Linked DNA regions of Homo sapiens: region 1 is linked to region 2. The links are contacts of gene promoters, found by promoter capture Hi-C in blood cells and fetal thymus (Javierre and others, 2016). All regions are on one chromosome and are shown on one strand. The core of a region is centred on a gene start or on the middle of the fragment in contact, and the rest is flanking DNA. Distances in the headings are between cores, read along the strand shown. Region 1 holds the start of ARFGEF1 (ARF guanine nucleotide exchange factor 1). Region 2 holds the start of MYBL1 (MYB proto-oncogene like 1).

Region 1 (5,004 bases), core at 1,961-4,460, 730 kb before region 2:
AAAAAAAGGAAAAATATATTTCAAAATTTAGAGGATAGATATTTTAGAAATTCAGAAATAGAATTTGGATGTTTTGAAAACTGCAAGGAGCCAAGTGCAAGTGAATACTGAGATTGCATTTATTTACATAGCTGTATATTAGCACCAAACAACATTAATAATAAAAAGTAAAAAATATATATATACAGGGGAATGTACTCATAATTTCTTTTCTTTTTTTTTTTAATTGAGATCGAGTCTCACTCTGTTGCTCCGGCTGGAGTGCAGCAGCATGATCTTGGCTCACTGCAACCTCCGCCTCCTGGGTTCAAGCGATTCTCCTATCTCAGCCTCCTGAGTATCTGGGATTACAGGCACCCGCCACCACGCCCACCTAATTTTGTATTTTTAGTAGAAACGGGGTTTCACCATGTTGGCCAGGCTGGTCCTGAACTCCTGACCTCAGGTGATCCACCCGCCTCAGCCTCCCAAAGTGCTGGGTTTACAGGAATGAGCCACAGTGCCTGGTCTGTACTCATAATTTCATGTAAAAATCTCCTTTGCCACTCCCTGTGTACCTGTCAATAAAAGATTGAAAATATCCAAGAGCATCAGCTTTATTCTAGAGTCTTACTCTATTTTTGCTACAGGTCTGAGTTAGTATCTTGAGTTTCAAGTGGATAGGAGTGCCCATCTCGTAAGACTACTCCTACCCCCCTCCACCCTCAAGCACCACCACCTTTTGGGTAAACCCAGCAAGGGAAGAGGATGAGTTGTCCTCCCAAAGGAAGATGCAAATCATTCCTTCTGGGAGGGTTAGGTCATATCTCAGAGGAGTTTATTCTTCTGAAACTGACAACTACACTCTTTACCCTCAAATCTTCCATCTAGCCTATCTCTACAAATGGCATTTCCAACTGTTCACTGGTTCCCAGCAGAAACCTGGTATTCATTTGTGACCTCTTTCTCTCTCTAACCTGCACTCCAGTTAATTAAGTCCGGTTTATTCTGCCACCAAAGTATATCCCAAATCTGTCTACTTTGCTCCATCTCCATGCTACCACTGTCATTTCTGGGCTAACCTTTATGCAAATTAGTGAAAGAAGCCTCTTCTTTTGGGCAGACAGTGGGGCTGGATTTCAGCCACACTTGCTCCCTTGTGCCACGATCTCCACAACCTTGCTTGGTGGCCCTGGACCTGACCAAGCCATCCTGCGCTGTTGTAATAAATTTCTTAAAATGTTTTGCCACATCCTCACTTCTCCCCCTCCAATCCATTCTCCATGTAACAGAGGGATTATTTTAAAATCACCAATTTGATCACTTTATCCCCCACTTTTAAAACCTTTCAATGAATTTCCATTGTTATTACGATGAAATTGCAACCCCCTAACATGGCCTACGAGAGTCTGAATGATCTGGTTCCTAGCTCCCTCTTCATCCTGACTGGCACCATTCTCCTTGATCCTTTCAGCCACACTGCCTTGTTTTGTTTCCTGAAACTTGCCAAGCTTCCCCCTACCCCAAGAGACTTTGCCTGGAAAGTTCTTCATGACTTAGTTTGGCTAATGTCTACTCTTCTTTCAGGTCTCAATTTAATTTACTTCTCCCTTCTCTCACAGCACTCTATTCTTTAATCATACTCAACAGATTTGTAATTGTATATTCACTACTGACTTAATATCTTTTCCCTACTCTATACTGTAAGGTCCAAAAGGGCAGGTATCATGCTTGTCTTAGCCTGGTGCCTTTCATTTATCCAAGTTTCTATAAGTTTATAGCAAAGGCCTTCTCTATGCCAGCAATATAATAGATGATGGGCACACAGAAGTGAATAGACAGAGATATGAGGTCCCTGCACTTATGAGAGAAACATGCAACCAATCAACAAGCAAGGCAAGCAGATGAGATGATTATGAATGCTGTGGCACTATCATATCATAGTTCACTGCAGCCTCGAACTCCTGAGCTCAAGCGATCCTTCCTCCTCAGTCTCCTGAGCAGCTGCAACTACAGGTGGATGCCACCGTGCCTGGCTAATTTTTCTTTATTTTTTGTAAAGACAGTGTCTTGCTACGTTGCCCAGTTTCATCTGCAAATCCCGGCCTCAAGCCATTCTCCTGCCTTGGCCTCCCAAAGTGCTGGGACTACAGGTGCCAGCTTGTCTTGTTCATCAATGAATCCCAAGTATGTTTTACGATAAAGCTGACAGCTAAACATAACCGAAGAGTCTGCTTCGTTCATGTAAAGTACAAAATAGTTATTCTAGATGGTTCTTCTCCAAGAGTTCCAATTCAGAAACTAAGACTCCTAACTTGTGGTTCTGCCATCTTCAGCTGTGGCCATAGAAGGGAAAAGAGAGACTGGGCATGGTGGCTTATGCCTGTAATCTCAGCACTGGGAGGCTGAGGCAGGAGGATCGCTTGAGGCCACGAGTTCAACATGGTGAGATGCCATCTCTACCAAAAGAAAAAAAAAAAAAAGGGAAACAGCATGAAAGATTGCTTGTGGGAATTTCTTGTTGGTTTTTTAACAATAGGTTAAGCCTGGATGGCTACACCTAACTTCAAGGGAGGCTGGACAATGCAATTCTATACTAAGAAAGAAGAGTAAATGGGTTTGGTGATCAGCTAGTACCCTCAACAGTACCTGGCACAACACTCCATTATGAAGAAACAAAGATGAATTAGAAATGGATCAACACCTGTGAAAGAAGGGAAGAAAAAAATAAAAGAAATGGAACTTGTTCTAAAAAAGTTTATTAACGTATACACAGAAATCAGTATTATATCTGATCTAAGAGTATAATGAATCCTTCATTTCCAGGAATCTAGAGATAGTCTCTAAAATAAAATTAATGAATTTATAGATTTGTTTCTCAGGACAATAAAGTTTAAAAAAATTAATCTATTTTTCCACTTTAATTTGTCACCTTCAAGTTTTCCATTTTATTTCCTCTGGGTTTTAGCCTTCCTAAATCTGGTCACTTCACTAAGTTCACAGAGTCACTTAAGTTTCTCCTTCCTTAGGTTTGGATGGTTACGTTAGGACAAGCCTATAGTTAAGGCAATCTAATAGAACAGAACAGTGACAGATGCATAGTAAACATTAGGGAACCTGTGTGCGTGGAGCCACAGAAGCTTAGAACTTGGAGACGTGACCCTAGATCACCATATATAATGTTTGCAAATATTTTTATGGTATTCTTTTTCTGCTCAGAAGGAAACTGTAGAAATTAAATACTGCAGAAATTTGAGTTCTACACTCAGACTAAAGCAAACACATGGTCACGTGTGTTAATCTGTTTGTACTTAAAGCTTTTCCATTCTAAACTGGTTTACATGTCCTGGACTAAATCTTAGTATTAAAGGCACAGAAACACAGAACTCTAAGGGACCTCATTCACAACCATTCACCTTAACTGAGTCAATTCAGAAGGGACCTGAAATCTAGAGTTGACCGATTTATCCGACAGAGAGAGAAAAAAGTGAAACATTTTTGAACCCTTATCAATAGGTTTTGGCTTACTTTTCCCAAAACAGAATCCTCCCTGAGGTAGTCGGAGAGCAGAGTCCTGGACAGCAGTTCCGTGCACTAGGGAAGGAAATTTTAGAGTCGAGTGATGCAGGCGGAGACCCTGCGGCTGAGAACGGGCGATGCGGGTGTTGCTGTGACCCCTGGAATGCAAAGGACTGCACCCCCATCAGAAAGTTAGAAAGCCAGTGCAGAGTAGCCAGGAGTCCTGTTCACTCGGCAGGAGCAGGGGTGCCGAGTGGGGGGATCTCTGGTCCCGCAGCTCGGCCGCCACCAAGAGCCCGAAGTGCTGGGCGCGGTGCCACCAGAGGCCCGCCACGCCCCACGCCGCCCTGCAGGCGAACGCTGGAGGCCCCGCCGGGCCGCCGTAGCGCTGCGGCTCGGGCCGCTCCTCCCGCGCCGCCCTCCGCCCCCAGCCTCCCGGCGCCGCGGCAGCTCTGGGCAGGGAGCGCCGCCGCCGCCGCCGCCGCCGCCGCTTCCTCGTCTGCAGCCGTTCGGCCGCTGCGTGACGCGTCGTTTCCTCCCAACATGGCGGCCGGGGCAGGTCGGCGGTGATGGGGGCCAGTTCGCGGCCGCGGCGGGTGCTAATCCCCACAGTAGCCAGGGTAGCCCTTCTCTCGCGGTGCCTCTGAGAGCCGCCGCCACCTCGTCCCTCAGTTCCCGGCAGACAGCCGCCCGGGCCGGGCTCCCTCACCGCCACCAGGGCCGGAGGGACGAGTGAGAGGGGCGGCCGGGACGCGACCCCCGGGCCGGGAGAAGCGGAGGCCCGACGGGCGCGGCCCTCGAGGTACGGCTTCTTGGGGGCGGCGAGGACCTCGACGCCCTTCGCCGACACCGCGGCTGGTCCCGCTCGCCCGCCCCTTCCTGATCCTGCCGCTGCCCTCCACGCCTCCAATCCCCCACCTCCACCCCCTCTCCTTTCTCTCTTCTCTTCCTTCCTCTCCTCCTCCTCCCCTCCAGCCGCTGGGAGCCGCGGGTCGGACGAGCCGCCGCCTCCTTCTCTGCGTCCATGTATGAGGGGAAGAAGACGAAGAACATGTTCCTGACCCGGGCTCTGGAGAAGATATTGGCCGACAAGGAAGTGAAGAAGGCGCATCACTCCCAGCTGCGCAAAGCTTGCGAGGTGGCGTTAGGTGAGCGGGGAGGAGGCCCGGGGGATGGGGTGCTTGTTGTGGGGCGGGGAGGGGGGCGCCTGTGGGGGGGTGGGGTCGCCCGGGGCTTGCCCGAGGCCCGCGCCTCTGACCTCGGGAAGCCCTCGCGGAGCCCTCTGTTCCCTGTCTGGAGTTGACAGGAACTCGGCTGGATGTGGGGCAGAGGCGGGGTAGAGGAGGAAGGGCAGTGAGCTGGGCTCGGGAAACGCGGCAGGGCTTAGGATCGCGGGGCACCTGGGTTCGAGGGATCGACTTGAGAGTGAGAGGATTTTGTTGGTGGTCCGTGAGGTGCGGACTGGATACCACCCTTTGTGATGAAGCAGAAGATGAGCTGTTGTTT
Region 2 (5,618 bases), core at 1,742-4,241:
GAGGCGGGAGGATCACCTGAGGTCAGGAGTTCCAGACCAGGCTGGTCAACATGGTGAGACCCCATCTCTACTAAAAATACAAAAAATTAGCCTGGGGTGGCAGGATAATTTCTTGAACCCGGGAGGTAGAGGTTGCAGTGAGCCAAGATCATGCCACTGGACTCCAGCCTGGGTGACAGAGTGAGACTCTGTCTCAAAAAACAAAAACCACAAAAATTAGCCGGGCATGGTGACACATGCCTGTAATCCCAGCTGCTTGGGAGGCTGAGGCACAAGAATTGCTTGAACATGGGAGGTGGAGGTTGCAGTGAGTGGTGATCGCGCCAATGCACTCCAGCCTGGGTGACAGAGTGACTGTCTAAAAAAAAAAAAAAAAAAAAAAAAAAAGACCTACTATTTGACAGCACAAGTTGACTAGAGTCAATAACTTGATTGTAGATTTTAAAATAACTAAAATTTATAATAACTAAAAGTAACACAAAGGATAAATACTCAAGGGGATGGATACCCCATCTCCATGATGTGATTATTTCACATTGCATGCCTGTATCAAAACATCTCATGTACCCCACAAATATATACACCTACTATGTACCCACAAAAATTAAAAAACAAACAAAACAAAGCCACTATAAATGTTTTGCAAAATGGCTGAATTCTGCATGCCTAACAGCAATGTATGCAAGTTGTACTTGCTCAGCATTTTCATCTTCACCAACATTTGTATAGTCAGTCATTTTCCCCGCTCATTCTAACAGAAGTGTAGTCTAGTATCTCATTGTGGTTTAATTTGCATTTCTCTAATGACTAATGAGGTGGAACATCATTTAATATGCCTGTCGTGTGTGTGTGTGTGTGTGTGTGTGTGTGTGTGTGTGTGTATGTATATATATATCTCGTTTGGTGAAATCTGTTTAAATCTTTTGCCCATTTTTTAAATGCTTTTTTTCTCACTGAGTTTTGAGAGTTCTTTATATACTCTGAATAAAATCTCTAAACGTTTGCTTAAAAAAAAACTCATCTTAGTTTAGAATACATCTGAGTATGTGTATTCAAATGACTGTGAACCACTTTAATTCCACACTTTGCCCTGAGTTTTATAACTGATTTCAGTAATTTCACAATGTTATCTTTCTGGGAATTGCTTTTCTCTATATGTAAAAATGAGGGAAATTTGTTTTACTGTCAAAATCTAAAACATTTGTCTTCAAGCTCTAAAAAAGGTATTCTGTATAAAACTGAATACAGCCTAAAATATAGCAGAAGCTCTGCTTCCTGTTAGATATAAATAAGTGAAGTAATGTACGACCCAGGGGTAAATAAGAAAACAGTGAAACAGTGATTCCAAATGACATTGGGAACATAATGAAATTTGGGAACTCATTTCTAAATTATTTTTTATTTTTTTATTTTTACTGAACCAGCAACCCAGTAAGGAATGATCTGGAAGAAACGCTTGGCCAGGTGTTGTGGCGCGCGCCTGTAGTCCCAGCTACTTTGGAGGCTGAGGCAAGAGGATCGCTGTTCGAGGCTACTGTAAGCTATGATTGTGCCACTGCACTCCAGCATGGGGAATAGAGTGAGACCTAGTCTCAAAAAAAAAACAACAAAAAAAAAAACAGGAGAGAAAAAGAAAAGCTGTTTTATCTTCCCTTACCTTCCCAGAATCTATACCTTGAAAAAAGGAACTGTTAAAAAAAAAAAAGCCAGTGTGTTTAGGTTTTGACAGCAGTGCATGCAAGCTTCTCTCTTAATTCAGCTCCTCTTAATTCACTCTGCACCTGCATCTGATTTGCAAAAGATGAAGCGTAAAATTTCAAAATAGCAAGTGTTTGTTACAGTGTTAACATGTGGCTCAGTGCTCTATGCAATAGACCATGTTGCCTTGCAAATTTTCCTTAGCCAAGTGTAATTGTTACTGTAGCAAATCTACTTTAATGCTACTTGAAATGAACAGTTCGTAGTTATTAGACTGGAACCTCAAGTAGCTGCAACCGCTAGAAACTCCTCCGGTGGTTCCCCCCTCCCTGGTCTCTCCAGAGGGAAGAAGGTCACCTTCTACACTTAACTACCATGCTCATTCATCTGGACGAAATGCCCAGTCCACTGTCTTCTTCACGCGTTATTCTCCAGGACAGGGCTCCTCCGCCGCGCACGTTATTTCCTGTAGAGCGGGCACGAAATTAAGCACCTTGAAGACCAGCGGTAGACACAGATTATCTCCGGTTCCAAGCACGTCTCCCGCTAGGAACTTTTTTCACTTGTCACTCTTCTGCTGCTTTTTGAGGAAAACAGGTGATATTTGGTTTCCTGCCAGAGTCTTCGTCACTCTCGTAACTATGATGTCTGGGTAAAAATAGCTCACATTTTTGCTTAAAAAATAACGGCCGCGCAAATTTATGGTTAGATTTGTCTCAAGTCTGAAGACCGCGCATCCTAACTAGTGAGGCGGAAGACACCTAAGGAGCCAGGAGCTGTCGCCGAGGCGAGGCTGCGGAGACGTTCCCTTGGTGGGCCGCGGGACCACCCACCCCGCCAGAAACTCGGTTCGCTCACCCTAAGAATTTTGGGGCAACTGGACTTCTCCACCGCCCGCTTCCGGACCCGCTCCGGCGCCGCTTCCGGACCCACTCCTCGGCGAGCGCAGGAACTCGCTCTCCCAGCAGGCCCCGCGCGGTGCGCCTCTCGGCGCGTTCCGGGTCCTATGACAGCTCGGCTCGCATGCGCCACCTACGGCCCCACCCGCGGCCCCACCCCCTGGCTCCCGGCTCCTTCCCCGACTCCCGCGAGTTCCAGTCCCAGCTTCCAGCTCCCCAGCCCCGCCCTCAGCCGCGCGCGCTCTCCCCTCCCCGCCCTCGCTTCTTCGCGTGCGGCCCCCACAGCCAATGAGGTTCAGGGCCGCGTGCGCAGATTCAAACGGCGGCTCTTGAGGGAGGCTGGGCGCGAGATTCGGCGGTGCGGACAAAACCCTGCAGGAGACTGCGAGCCCTGCAGAACTGCTAGCTGCGGGGGAGAGGGCAGGGGTCGGGCGCCTGTGGCGGAGCCGGGCTGGGGCCAGGGCAGGGAGGCTGACAAGCGGCGGGAGAAGCCGGCGGAGGGCGGGATCGCGCCTCCTGACATGTTGGGGGTATCCCTGGCCGGGCCGGGCCGGGGCTAAGAGCGGCGCTGCGGGCCGGGGTCGGGGTCGGGTCGCGGTCCGCCCCCGCTGTCCCTCCGTCCTGCCCTGTCGAGGACGTGCGTTCCGCACTCGGCCGCCTCCAGAGGGAGCGAGGGAAGCGGCTAGAGGATCGGGGAGAAGGAGCATTCGCCGGAGGCTGGAGGAGGCTGACCCGCGTCCCCGCCCAGCCTGCTCCTATGCGGTACTTGAAGGATGGCGAAGAGGTCGCGCAGGTGGGTGGCACCCCTTTCGCCCAGGCCTGTCGGCGCCGTCTCGGCTCAGATTCTCTTTCCTATCCCGCTGCCCCCTCCCGCCATAAGGCCCTCCCTGGCGAGGGCAGAGGTTTTTCTTCCCGCGTCCCCGCGGCCGCTTGGCCTCGATGACCGGAGGGCAGCTGCGACGTGTGGAGAGTTGGGGACCAGGGTGTTTGAGGCGCGGGACGTAAGAGATGCCCAGGTTTCTCGGTGACTCTCCCCGTAATGCGCGTCCAGATTTCTGACCTCATGCTGCCACTTCTTCGAGGCAGGTTTCTTGCCAGGTAAGTCGAGCGCTTTTAGGGAGTCCGCTACGCAGAGAAAACTGACTGTGTCCTGCCGGGAGGACTTGAAAATGGTGTTCGGGCGACTCTTTTCTGAATGACGGTACAGTCAAAATAGGAACTCCGCGGTGAACCTGGGCGGCCACCCCTCTGCCAACTTGGCTATCTTGAAACGTTGTGGAAAATCCTCTGGGGAATAGCTGAGAGGACTTTTTTGATGTTTTCTGTAATTCCTATACCCATATGCTCAGCTTTATGTATATATGTATATTTTAATATCCTCTCTTGGGACCATGTCACATAGTAACAACTAGTAGTAACAACTAGTAGCTTGATCTTGAAATAAAACAATGTGTTTGATTCACTTAATATTTTGAGTGTCTGTGTTTGGCTCTGACCGTACCTAAGTGTTCCACAGAGGTAAGGCACTTTTTTCCACCTTTGCCTGGAAAATGTGCTAGGATGAATTTATGCATCTAATTTTCGTTTACATGCCATTACAGCAGCTACTCATAAATTATGTGGAGTAATTGCTTAGATAACAAAAATATAGGATGTCTTCCGATTTTCAGCATTATCAAATAAACCTGAAAAGATGTTTGGCAGGATTTCCAAATATTTATTTATCTAGATCCACAGCCCCAAAATCTTAACTAGAGATGTATTTCCTAAGTTGAAATTTAGTAATGGGGGTCATTCATTGCAGAGTTCTGCTAAAAATTGGCAGTAACTATACATAATTGTTTTTTCCTTAGTTTTCTGTTAAGCATCTGCTGTGTGCAGGATGCTTCTGCAGAAATCCTTAAGTCTCTGTAAGCTTATTAGTTTTGAAGTAAGTTATAGGACAAACTCTTGAGATGAAATAAATGTGTACACAGACCCCTCTAAAACTGTTTTCAGCCTTTGCACTATTGACATCTTGGACCAGATAATTCTTTGTAATGGGGAGATGTTTAGCAGCATCGCTGGCTTCTACCCAGTAGAGATAGTAACACTCCACTTCCCTCAGTCATGACAGTAAAAATGTCTCCAGACATTGCCAAATATCTTTTGGGGGACAAAATCACCCAGGAAAGAACCACCCTTCTAGAACTTCAAGGACCCAATTAACATCAATCTTCAGAAAAGATAGATATTTAAAGCTCTTGTAATTATGATTGCCGAAGTACTGGTTTAGGCTTTTTGAATTTTTAAATATAAAAAAATTTAAAAATAAGATGACAATTGAATATGTTAACTCAATAACAAGTTTATTAATGTGTGATATTATCTACTTATCAGTATTGATGTTAATCTTATTTGAAACAGTTTCTTGGCTAATTCTGTCATCAGCATTTAGTTAAATTAAAATTATGGCTAGACACGAATGTTTAAATGTCAGAACCTTCCCCTCCCCATGGGTTTTCTGTCCATTTCATATGTGTGAAGTGTATGTTTCATAATAATGGACAAAGAAAGGAGAAACAACTTAATGTTAGTTTGCATATATAAGTTGTTTTATTGAGAATACTGTGAGCTTGAAATCTAAATATTGTACTTTTGACATTTATCCCTTGACAGTTGTGTAAGTTAATTTAAACATGATAGAATGATTTAAAGGGTCGTAAATCTGGAGTAATTAAATGTGGTGGGGTGAAGCTATACTCTCCCTGGGAGTATACAGATAGAGGATGTGGGGAGAAATTATCATCTCTGAATGATGTATCTCTTAAGTCTTCATACTTAAATGTGTTTCATACTCTGAATTACATTTCTTGCCCACGTAAATATGATTTACATATCTTAGAAGATAGTAGATGCTCTGCTTTTGTGCTTCAACAAAAAACAAAAGAGGATAGAGTGTGAATTGTTTTGAAGCAAAAATAATGTCATTGGGAAAAATCTCTCTTGCCTTTTACCTAAGTATCTTAATATATTTGAACT

What was found. Contacts are between HindIII fragments. The CHiCAGO score rates a contact against its expected background, and 5 or more counts as called.
Region 1: a contact is called between a fragment that was not itself captured here and the fragment with the promoter of MYBL1 in region 2, in 2 of 17 cell types (fetal thymus and total CD8 T cells). The highest score is 11.2, in fetal thymus.

The regions. Positions count from the first base shown.
Region 1 is chr8:67,342,806-67,347,809 of GRCh38, reverse strand. It overlaps ARFGEF1 (ARF guanine nucleotide exchange factor 1), which reads left to right and starts at 4,029. Exons shown (of 39, transcript NM_006421.5): 1 at 4,029-4,646. The coding sequence starts at 4,523. ARFGEF1-DT (ARFGEF1 divergent transcript) reads right to left here and starts at 3,976. Exons shown (of 5, transcript NR_136224.1): 1 at 3,508-3,976. RefSeq lists silencers at 3,739-3,998, 4,179-4,408 and an enhancer at 4,335-5,004. The HindIII fragment of the contact is 177 bases long and covers 3,122-3,298 here.
Region 2 is chr8:66,610,591-66,616,208 of GRCh38, reverse strand. It overlaps MYBL1 (MYB proto-oncogene like 1), which reads left to right and starts at 2,991. Exons shown (of 16, transcript NM_001080416.4): 1 at 2,991-3,390. The coding sequence starts at 3,371. It overlaps LOC105375884 (a long non-coding RNA gene), which reads right to left and starts at 2,660. Exons shown (of 2, transcript XR_929015.3): 1 at 2,557-2,660; 2 at 351-2,164. RefSeq lists enhancers at 2,145-2,194, 2,205-2,284, 2,335-2,474 and a silencer at 2,705-3,224. The HindIII fragment of the contact is 2,770 bases long and covers 1,745-4,514 here.